Linked DNA regions of Homo sapiens: regions 1 and 3 are each linked to region 2. The links are contacts of gene promoters, found by promoter capture Hi-C in blood cells and fetal thymus (Javierre and others, 2016). All regions are on one chromosome and are shown on one strand. The core of a region is centred on a gene start or on the middle of the fragment in contact, and the rest is flanking DNA. Distances in the headings are between cores, read along the strand shown. Region 1 overlaps BCL2L13 (BCL2 like 13). Region 2 holds the start of HDHD5 (haloacid dehalogenase like hydrolase domain containing 5). Region 3 overlaps BID (BH3 interacting domain death agonist).

Evidence for each region. Contacts are between HindIII fragments. The CHiCAGO score rates a contact against its expected background, and 5 or more counts as called.
Region 1: a contact is called between a fragment that was not itself captured here and the fragment with the promoter of HDHD5 in region 2, in 1 of 17 cell types (neutrophils). The highest score is 7.1, in neutrophils.
Region 3: a fragment that was not itself captured here is called in contact with the fragment with the promoter of HDHD5 in region 2 in 1 of 17 cell types (neutrophils); the score reaches 5.2 in neutrophils.

Annotation. Positions count from the first base shown.
Region 1 is chr22:17,730,090-17,733,209 of GRCh38, reverse strand. BCL2L13 (BCL2 like 13) reads right to left here. Exons shown (of 7, transcript NM_015367.4): 7 at 2,355-3,120. Among named protein-coding and RNA genes, the nearest start is that of MIR3198-1, 33 kb to the left of the region's middle. The HindIII fragment of the contact is 3,564 bases long and covers 1-3,120 here.
Region 2 is chr22:17,157,444-17,160,586 of GRCh38, reverse strand. It overlaps HDHD5 (haloacid dehalogenase like hydrolase domain containing 5), which reads left to right and starts at 1,310. Exons shown (of 8, transcript NM_033070.3): 1 at 1,310-1,461. The coding sequence starts at 1,336. It overlaps HDHD5-AS1 (HDHD5 antisense RNA 1), which reads right to left and starts at 1,198. Exons shown (of 2, transcript NR_024483.1): 1 at 750-1,198. RefSeq lists a silencer at 1,299-1,628. The HindIII fragment of the contact is 6,885 bases long and covers 1-2,064 here.
Region 3 is chr22:17,767,422-17,770,416 of GRCh38, reverse strand. The region is part of intron 1 of BID (BH3 interacting domain death agonist); the gene reads left to right. Among named protein-coding and RNA genes, the nearest start is that of MIR3198-1, 4.7 kb to the right of the region's middle. RefSeq lists enhancers at 1,844-1,903, 1,974-2,023, 2,044-2,093. The HindIII fragment of the contact is 6,348 bases long and covers 1-2,995 here.

The DNA of each region.
Region 1 (3,120 bases), core at 209-2,708, 570 kb before region 2:
ATGTGGATAGAAAGATGAGTCCACTGATTATCTTCAAATCCCATGTATTCTCTCTAGCACGTTGCTTCTGACAGAAAGAATAACTCACAGATTTGAAGTTTGTTCCTTTCCCCTGATGAAGAGTAGATTGGCCAAAAGGTAGATGACAGGAAGGAAGAGGAGCCAGAATGACCCACAGTGATCAGTTCAGCAGTGCAGAGCGGCAGTGCAGAGGCTCATGGAACTCACACGGAAAAAGGAAACACATGCTGCTTAAAATGCACGATAACTTAATTATCCAAATTACCATTCAATTCCGGTATTTTTGAGATGAAAGCATTTGAGCCAACACTAAATTGACCTTAATTAAGGAATGAGGTAGGAAGAGGCACTTTTAATCTGGAGGAAGAAATAAATGGAAGACTGTAATAGGAAAAATACAGGTCTAGGAAAAAAATAATTTTTTTCCTTTGATGCTGGCCAAGGACCCCTCTACATAATACAGTTCTCCTGCTGGAAAGCATCAGGGCAAACAGAGTTATTCCAAACTCTGCAACAGGGAAGACTGTACTTTGACCTTCTTTTCCTGGGGAAAGGGAACAACTAGTAATCTTTAAATGTCAAAACTTTTCTTCTAAATAGTACATTCATTAACCAGTTTCTTCTGGTGGTGCAAAGAACACTCACCACAGTGAGCAATACCACTATTCAATTTCCCCTTTGGAGAGGTGACAGCGGGGTAGAATCACCTGGAGTCAGCTGCTAGTCTTTAACTGATGACAAGGCCTTGCAAATACCCCTGAGAACAATTTCACTCTGAGCTCACAGGGAAGCAGCAGTCTGGTGTGGGCTCCTGTGGTGTAACCATCAAATGTGGAAGACCTGATGGTGTTAGTGTGTGGGGATGCCGGGCTGAAATTCAACAGCCTTGCAAAAAGAAAGGGAAGATGGGATGTGTTAATATTGTAGTGGCATGCACTTTCCAGCTCTCCATGGAGCTCTCTTTATATATGAGGTAATTGAATGTCACTATTCTGTACCATACAGCAGGTATTATCTAGCCAAGGTTATAATTACCATGAAGTGCTGTGGAATGTAGTAGGAGGCTTTTCACTGGGAAGATCCTCCAGGAGCTGACGTACTTGTGGCCATACCTGGTCAACCCTCCTAAGTCCCCAACCTCTTTGTCTGTCCAGAGGCCAAGCAATGCTTCCAGGTATTCCCCTACTTCACTCCACAGCCCCACCCTTATGATGGCATACACAGGGGAGAAGGGACGAACTCGAACAAACAGAAAAAGACCAAGAAATGCATCGTGGTGCTGTCTTCACCCCCCTCATTTAGCACTTTGTGATAACTGCTGGGACAGATTGCCTAACCTTGTCTACAAGCAAAAATATTTAATCAAGAAAGCTAATGAAAGCTCATCGGCAATGACTGTGAATTCTGTAACCACAAAGCATCTCACTCAATGTCTACAGGGAAAACAGCTACATAATTGGAAGCTGAGACCAGTCCTGGACCTAACCCTCACTCTTGTTTTTTTGTAGTAGAACATGCTTAATGTTTAAGTGAGCCTATATGGTGCCTTTGTACAAATTAGAAAAATACTTCGCTTCTCCCAGAGCCCACAGCATGGTGAGCAGAGCACAGGCTGCACGTCGGAATTTGTCCCCAGTCAGTCCTTATGCAGTAAACAACTGGCGCAACTGTTTGCAGGGGACCTGCCAATACTGCTTTGCAGTGCCAGGAAAATGATAAAAACCGGCAAAATCATTGCCTTGCCTCGCCTATGCTTGAGGACGTTAGAAAAACTAACTCTGGGCCGGGCACGGTGGCTCACGCCTGTAATCCCAGCACTTTGGGAGGCCAAGGCGGGTGGATCACGAGGTCAGGAGATCGAGCCCATCCTGGCTAACATAGTAGAGACCCTGTCTCTACTAAAAATACAAAAAAAGCAGCCGGGTATGGTGGCGGGCGCCTGTAGTCCCAGCTACTTGGGAGGCTGAGGCAGGAGAATGGCGTGAGCCCGGGAAGCGGAGCTTGCAGTGAGCCGAGATTGTGCCACTGCACTCCAGCCTGGGCGACAGAGCAAGGCTCTGTCTCAAAAAAAAAAAAAAAAAAAAAAAAGGAAAAAGAAAAACTAACAAACTCTGATTAGGTTCTTCATTCTGTAATATGGGAATAAAAGGAATACAAACAGCTATTAGAACTGTGAAGGTGAAATAAGGTATGTGAGAGCACTAGAACCGTCTCTGGCATGTTATAAATGCTCAACTAGTATTTGCTAAAATATAATTATCGACATGAATTTTTTTTAGGAAAAATTATACACCCTAAACTCAAATGAATGTCATAATTGAGAGATTATCACTAAGGGCAGGTTTTGGTGCACCAGAGAAGAGGAAACATTATTCTGGTATCCAGTATGTCGCTGAGATGTTAAACGAGATAATGCTTGTGTGGGAATTTGGGCAGAAGCTCTAGGTCGTGTCTGTTAGCAATCAGATAGCCTACAAGGCCGTCTTGATGGGTATGATCACCACCTCAAATTCTTGGAAAGATAAGTTTGTGTGGAAAGATGTAAGAAATTAAGAGAAAGGGAAAATTCTTAGCTACAAAACGTTTTATTTCTATAAAACATCTCTTAAAATAATTCAAACACTGAAATGTCCACATCTCATACCTTTCAGGAGAAAGGCAAGGAGACTACTTGCCTTACTGTCATATTATTGAGGGAATCAGCGCAAAGCCTGAGGAAATGAACAGTAGCTGTGGGTCAAAGCCATGTCTCCAGGTTCACGGCTCACTCCCCCAGGACAAGCCTAGTTAGGTAGTGGCTGCATCTGGTATCCCTGGGACAGAAATGCAGGTGAGAAGGGGTATCAAGAATGCCTCGAGGGGGAGATGGGTGAACCAGAAGGTCAACAGTTGCATTTCTTCATCTAGAATGTTCTCTAGAAGGGAATGATGATCATGAGAGTCCCCTTAAGGCACACCGCAGGTACTGACTGATTTCTGTGGGCCCAGAATTATCACTTTAATACAGAGAGGATAAATTGGCGTTGTTTTTTCCCCCCAATAAATCATTACCTTCAACAGAGCAGTTGAGATGAGGTCTAAGGACTAACAAGAACTTTT
Region 2 (3,143 bases), core at 61-2,560:
ACTTCTGCTGCCTGGGTTCAAGCGATTCTCCTGCCTCAGCCTCCCGAGTAGCTGGGACTTGAGGCGCCTGCCACCGCGCCTGGCTAATTTTTGCAGTTTTCAGCAGAGACGGGGTTTCACCATCTTGGCTAGGTGGTCTTGAACCCCTGACCTCCTGATCCACTCGCCTCAGTCTCCCAAAGTGCTGGGATTACAGGTGTGAGCCACCGCACCCGGCCCTATTTTATTATTTTTAAAATAGAGAAGGGGTCTCCCTATGTTGCCCAGGCTGGTCTGGAACTCCTGGACTCAAGTTTTCCTCCCACCTTGACCTTCCAAAGTTCTGGGATTACAGGGGTGAGCCACCGCACCCTGGCCTGCTAATGTGTGAGCTAGTGCAGTCTCTGTCCATATCCTCGACTCCCTCTCTGCTAGTGCTAAGTACATTGTAGGGTCCCGCGTTTTTAGCATAGCTATACCTATGAATGGGCCAAAGAATCTGAGGGCATCCTACACATTTCAAACGGTGGGAATGGAGACCTCTTTCCTCCAGCAGAATCTCCCCTCATGACCGGGGGACTACCAGATCCAGCTCTGCTAAGGGCCTCCACGGACGGAGTCGGCTACCTCTCCACTTTCAGTGACCGAAATCCATTCTTTGTTCATTCACCCTTGTGTCTACTCCGGGAAACGCGCAGCGGACACAGTCGTGTTCCCTAAGTGTTTGCTGACTTAGTCATCTGGCCCTCTCTGGAGTAGTCATTTTGTACCTTGTACTACATTCGTGCCTCTACCTCTCCGCAGTGCGCGCGGGGGCGGACTCACGTGCGCAGTCTCCCTATGCGCTGGGAGGGCGTCAGCAGGTTTACAGAAACAATGAAAGACTTAACAATTGGCGCGCGACGAGCGTCCCTTGACTGGCAGGGGCCCAGAGGACCTGAACATCACTAAGGGTCTGCCCCAGCGGCCCGGCCCTGAAGTCAAGGTTGAGACCCCCGGCCCAGACAGTCCGCGAAGCTGAGGGAGGCCGGCCTGGGGCCTGCCGCGCAATGTTACCGGGATCCGCAGGCACAGGGCGATAGTACGGACGCCGCCGCCCAGGCCGTGCCCATTGTGCGCCGCGGCCAGCTCACCGCGATCTCGGTCTAGGAGGCGGCGGGACCCCGCACTTCTTCCTTGCAACGGAGCCCCTTTGGCCTGCGGGTCGAGTTCCATAGGCGCCCGACGGGCTCCGCGCGCTTACAGGACTACAACTCCCGTGATGCCGCGCGCGCCGACCGCTGATTGGCTGTGCAGCGGACGGACTCGCGGGGGGGGGGGGCCGCACGCCGTGCACGTGCGCACGGCGACGGCCGGATGGCTGCGTGGGGCTGTGTGGCTGCGCTCGGCGCGGCGCGTGGGCTTTGCTGGCGGGCGGCGCGCGCGGCTGCGGGGCTCCAGGGCCGCCCCGCCCGCAGGTGCTATGCTGTGGGCCCCGCTCAGGTGAGGACGTCCGGGTTCTGGCCGAGCCACTCGCCACTCAGGGCCGGAGGCGGGGCGGGGAGCCGCGGGGAAGGAGGGGCGGCCGGGCTGGTATCCCAGCCTCCTGGGAACTGCCTGGACCGTCGTCGCGCCCGAGTGCATCGCGTTCTTGCTGGAGGGCGGATGCGCCCTGCCTTCCTCTGACTCGCTGGCGGCCTCGGAAACGCTACTCCCGCGGGAGAGCGCTCGTGGGACGGCCTGGGCCAGGCTGCTTGTCAGCCCCTGCGCTTCCCGGCAGTTTCCGCGTCCCTGTTTTCCCTGCGCGTCTTCTGATTTCCACCATGAGGACGTTTGGGTCGTGATTTTCATCTGCATGTGGAGGAAACTGGGCCGCGCGCCGGGAGCCGCGCCTGCGGGTGCTCCGCCCCCAAGTGCCTGTGGGTTTGGTGCGGGCCTTGGGTTCAGTTCAGCTCGCTGTGACCTCGACTGAGCGCTGGAGGCTCCGCGGGCGGGAGCAGGAGGGCTGGAGCCGGCGCCTGCTGTGTGCCCGGCGCGGTAGTGATGTGTGAGCCTCCCCGCAACTTCTGAGAAGGTGTGACCTTGTGTGGTCAGGAAGCCGAAGCTTGACGAGTTTTCAAGTACGTTTTCTCAGGTCCTGCAGCTGGGAGACGGCACAGGACACTAAACCAGGTTGGTCAGATCCACGGCTCTCACGCTCCCTTGGGCCGTTTTGCCTTTTCTGGAAAAAGGAATCACTTTGTCTTCTAAACGCACAAGTAATATTTTACATTAACATACGGATTTCACAGTAATCCTTGCATTTTTTTTTTTTAGACGGCATCTCTGTCACCAGGTTGGAGTGCAGTGGCGCAATCTCTGCTCACTGCAACCTCCGCCTCCCGGGTTCAAGCGATTCTTCTGTCTCAGCCTCCCGAGTAGCTGGGATTACAGGCACCCGCCACCACATCCGGCTAATTTTTGTATTTTTAGTAGAGACAGGGTTTCACCATGTTGGCCAGGCTGGTCTCGAACTTTTGACCTCAGATGATCCTCACATCTTGGCCTCCCAGAGTGGTGAGATTACAGGCATGAGCCAGTGCACCCGGCCAAATTACTTGCATGAAAAAAACACATAGTGCTTACTTTGTGCCAGGCACTATTCTAAGTACTTCACAGTTATTCGTATAATCTTTATAACAACTCCGAGGAAAGTACTATTATTAGTCTTCCCATTTTATAGATGGAGCAGAGGCACAGAGAGGTTAAGCAGCTTACCCAAGGGCACACAGCTGGTAAGTGGCAGAATCTGGAACTCAGGTAGTCTGGTGCCAGAGTCTAAGCTCTTAACAGCTGTATTATTTTTATGATTTTTAAATATGGAGCAGCTAAGGTTCAAAGCAGCTGAGTGACTTGGCCAGTGTCACATAGCTAGACGTGACCAAGGTGGAAGTTTGAAATTAGAATATGTTGATAAAAGGACTTACAAACTGTCAGGATATAAATATAAGGAAATATCGCCCTTATTTATAACTGTTGTATTGGCTCTAGCATCTCTGCAGAGTCCCGAAATGTCTCCAAGTGACTCTTCCGGTAGAGCAGAAAAAGAAGAATGCAGGATGACAGAGTTTGAGCACGAGCTTTAGAATTGAATCCTGTGCAGTCTGTTAGCGGCTTCACTTAAGGCAATTTACATAGCTTTCCAA
Region 3 (2,995 bases), core at 496-2,995, 610 kb before region 2:
AAACCAAAGAGAAGGGAAAACCCTTTGTAAGTGGATGTCACATGTCAGGTGCTTTTTCTGATACTGCATGTGATCCCACAAGGCAGGGAGTGTCCCCTTTTACAGACGGGGAAGGTGAGATCACATTGCAGGTTCAAAGCCCGACATGACCTGTCCACCTTTACAGCTTCCCTCTCTGGGCTGGGAGTGCGTGAGGGCTTCTTAAAATGCAGATGGACTTGGGGGATTGAGCTTCTCTGGGGTTCTGGTGTTTTTGTAGGGAGAGCCATCTGGGGTCAGGGCTGGGGTGGGGACAGCAGGAGAACAGGACAGGAGTGGCAACCCAGGGCCAGGGAAGGGAGTAGGCAGGGGTAGCATATGGGGGTGGAAAGAAAGGGGCCAGTGGCACGAAGGGCCCTGGGAGGCAGCAGCGTGTCCCTCCTGGGGGTAAGTCCAGGAAGGTGGCCATCCCCGAGGAGCTCCGTTCCTGTGACAATGAGGCTAGGCCTGAGGGCACCGGAGGCCAGCGGGCAAGTGCACACCCCCAAGCCTGGCGGGGCACCACGTGACCAGGCCTGGTATTGGGACTGGGAGTGGCTCCTGCACCAGCTGGCATCTGCCTAGAGACAGGAAGGTGGGTGCCTCCTGGGTTCAGCTGGGAACTCTGAGCTTTGGGTGCTGGAGGTCACTGCGTTTGGGATGGCTGCCTCCTGGACCCAGCTGCCTCTGTGTGTGGAGTCAGTAAGGCACCGTCCTGGCTGCGGAACTGAGGCAGGCATGCTATGAGAAGATAAAATTGCCTTAACAACTGTCCCCAGGATCCTTCCAGCAGGCACTTCCTTGCTGTGCCCTGGAAAAGCGGGGTGGCACTCTGGATGACAGCACAGCCTCAGGGTGCTTCTCTGTGGCCCACACACCCTTCCGGCCTGATGGCCACGTCCGTTCCTGTTTACCCAAGCCCCACTTCCCCTGAAATCCAGGCAGGGAGAGATGGGGCCTGGCTGTGAGAAACCTGGCCCCAGGTGTCACCATTTCCCCAAAAGCCTTGTTTCTCCCTCTGGGTATCCCTGAGGACCCCTGCAGACATCCAGCCCCAAACCCGGCCAACTGAGCAGGGAGCCCAGCTAGGGGCCTTTGTGGAAGGGTCACCCGTGTACTCACACCAGCAGCCAGCCGCTCCTGGGTCATCAGCCCCTCCATAGGAGAGGGGAGGCGTTTCTGCCAGGGGCTGGGTGGCATTTCTGCCAGGCAGGGGCATGGCGTTGGCACGGCACAGGCCCTGCTGTGCTCTGTGAGGCTCTGCCCTGACTTGGACTCTGCCTGGGATGTGGTGAAAGCCTTGTTCTTTATTTATTTAGTTATTATTTATTTATTTATTTATTTATTTATTTATTTTTGAGACGAGTCTCACTCTGTCGCCCAGGCTGGAGTGCAGTGGCACGATCTCTGCTCCCTGCAAGCTCCGCCTCCCAGGTTCACGCCATTCTCCTGTCTCAGCCTCCTGAGTAGCTGGGACTACAGGCGCCCACCACCACGCCCGGCTAATTTTTTTTTTTTTTTTTTTTGAGACGGAGTCTCGCTCTGTCGCCCAGGCTAGAGTGCAGTGGCGCGATCTCGGCTCACTGCAAGCTCTGCCTCCCGAGTTTCACGCCATTCTCCTGCCTCAGCTTCCCGAGTAGCTGGGACTACAGGTGCCCACCACCATGCCGGCTAATTTTTTCTATTTTTAGTAGAGAAGGGGTTTCACCGTGTTAGCCAGGATGGTCTCGATCTCCTGACCTCGTGATCCACCCGCCTCGGCCTCCCAAAGTGCTGGGATTACAGGCGTGAGCCACCTTGCGGCCCAGCCTTGTTCTTTATGACAGAGTCTACAGAGAGTTCAGGGAGGGGCGGACCAGGAGGCTCACCAGAGGCTCACCAGGGATTCTGGAGTAGCTGAGGGACACCTGCCTTCCCCTGCCATCCACCATGCCCCACCCAGAAGCCCAGGGCCTGGGCAGGGGAGGGAGGCAGGACTCCCGGGTCACAAAGACCTGGAGCATAGGGGTCCACTGACTTCTGGGGCCTGTGGTGGAGCCTCCGACCTCTGGGAGGGGGCCCCAGTCACCTGAAGAGGCTCTTGCCTCCTCATGTCTCCTCCTGCTGGCTGCCTTTTCAAAAACCGTTTGATTGAGACATACTGCACATGCCATAAAATTCACCCATCAAAGGGCACAGTTCAGTGGCTTAGTATATACACGGTGTGCGACCGTCACCACCGCCTACAGGCAGAACATTTCAGTAACCCAAAGAGAAGCTCCAGACACACTGGTGGCTGCTCCGCAGCCCTGGCAGCCCTAATCTTTCTGTCTATGGAGTTGCACATTTAGGACATTTCATACTAATGGAATCACACACTACGTGGTCTTTTGTGACTGACTTCTTTCATGTAGCATATTTTCAACTCATGTTAACTGCTGTAACTCATGTTACAGTAGGTGTCAATGTTTCCTTCATTTTTTATTTTGTATTTTTTGTAGAGACAGGGTCTCACTGTGTTGCCCAGGTTTGCCTCAAACTCCTGGGCTCAAGTGATCCTCCTGCCTTGGCCTCCCACAGTGCTGGCCTTTTCTTGGCTACCAGAGGCAAATTCAAGCAGCAATGGAACTTTTCACTTCGCGGACGCTGTTTCTCCGTTTTCTCTCCGTGTCTCTGTTTCCCCTGCCCCTGACTCTGTGTTCTGTTGGTTTCGGGCTTACCCATGGCTTGGTGGCATCAGTGATTGAGCATTGGTTTGTGGTCATATTGTTTTGCTCATCTTTGTAGGCGGATGACAGAGATCAGTTCTCTGTGGTCAGATACGGAGAATCTGGATGATCAGACTTCGTTCTCTGTGTCCTTAGCCTCTTTTGAGCTCAATTCAATTCAGAATTTTGTGTCCACCGGGAAGGATACCTCTTTGACACCTGGTCCAGGGACTTTTCCAGTTTCTGTGTTTACTCTTGCCCTGGGGCTGAAGTTGTAATTCAGAAAGGCC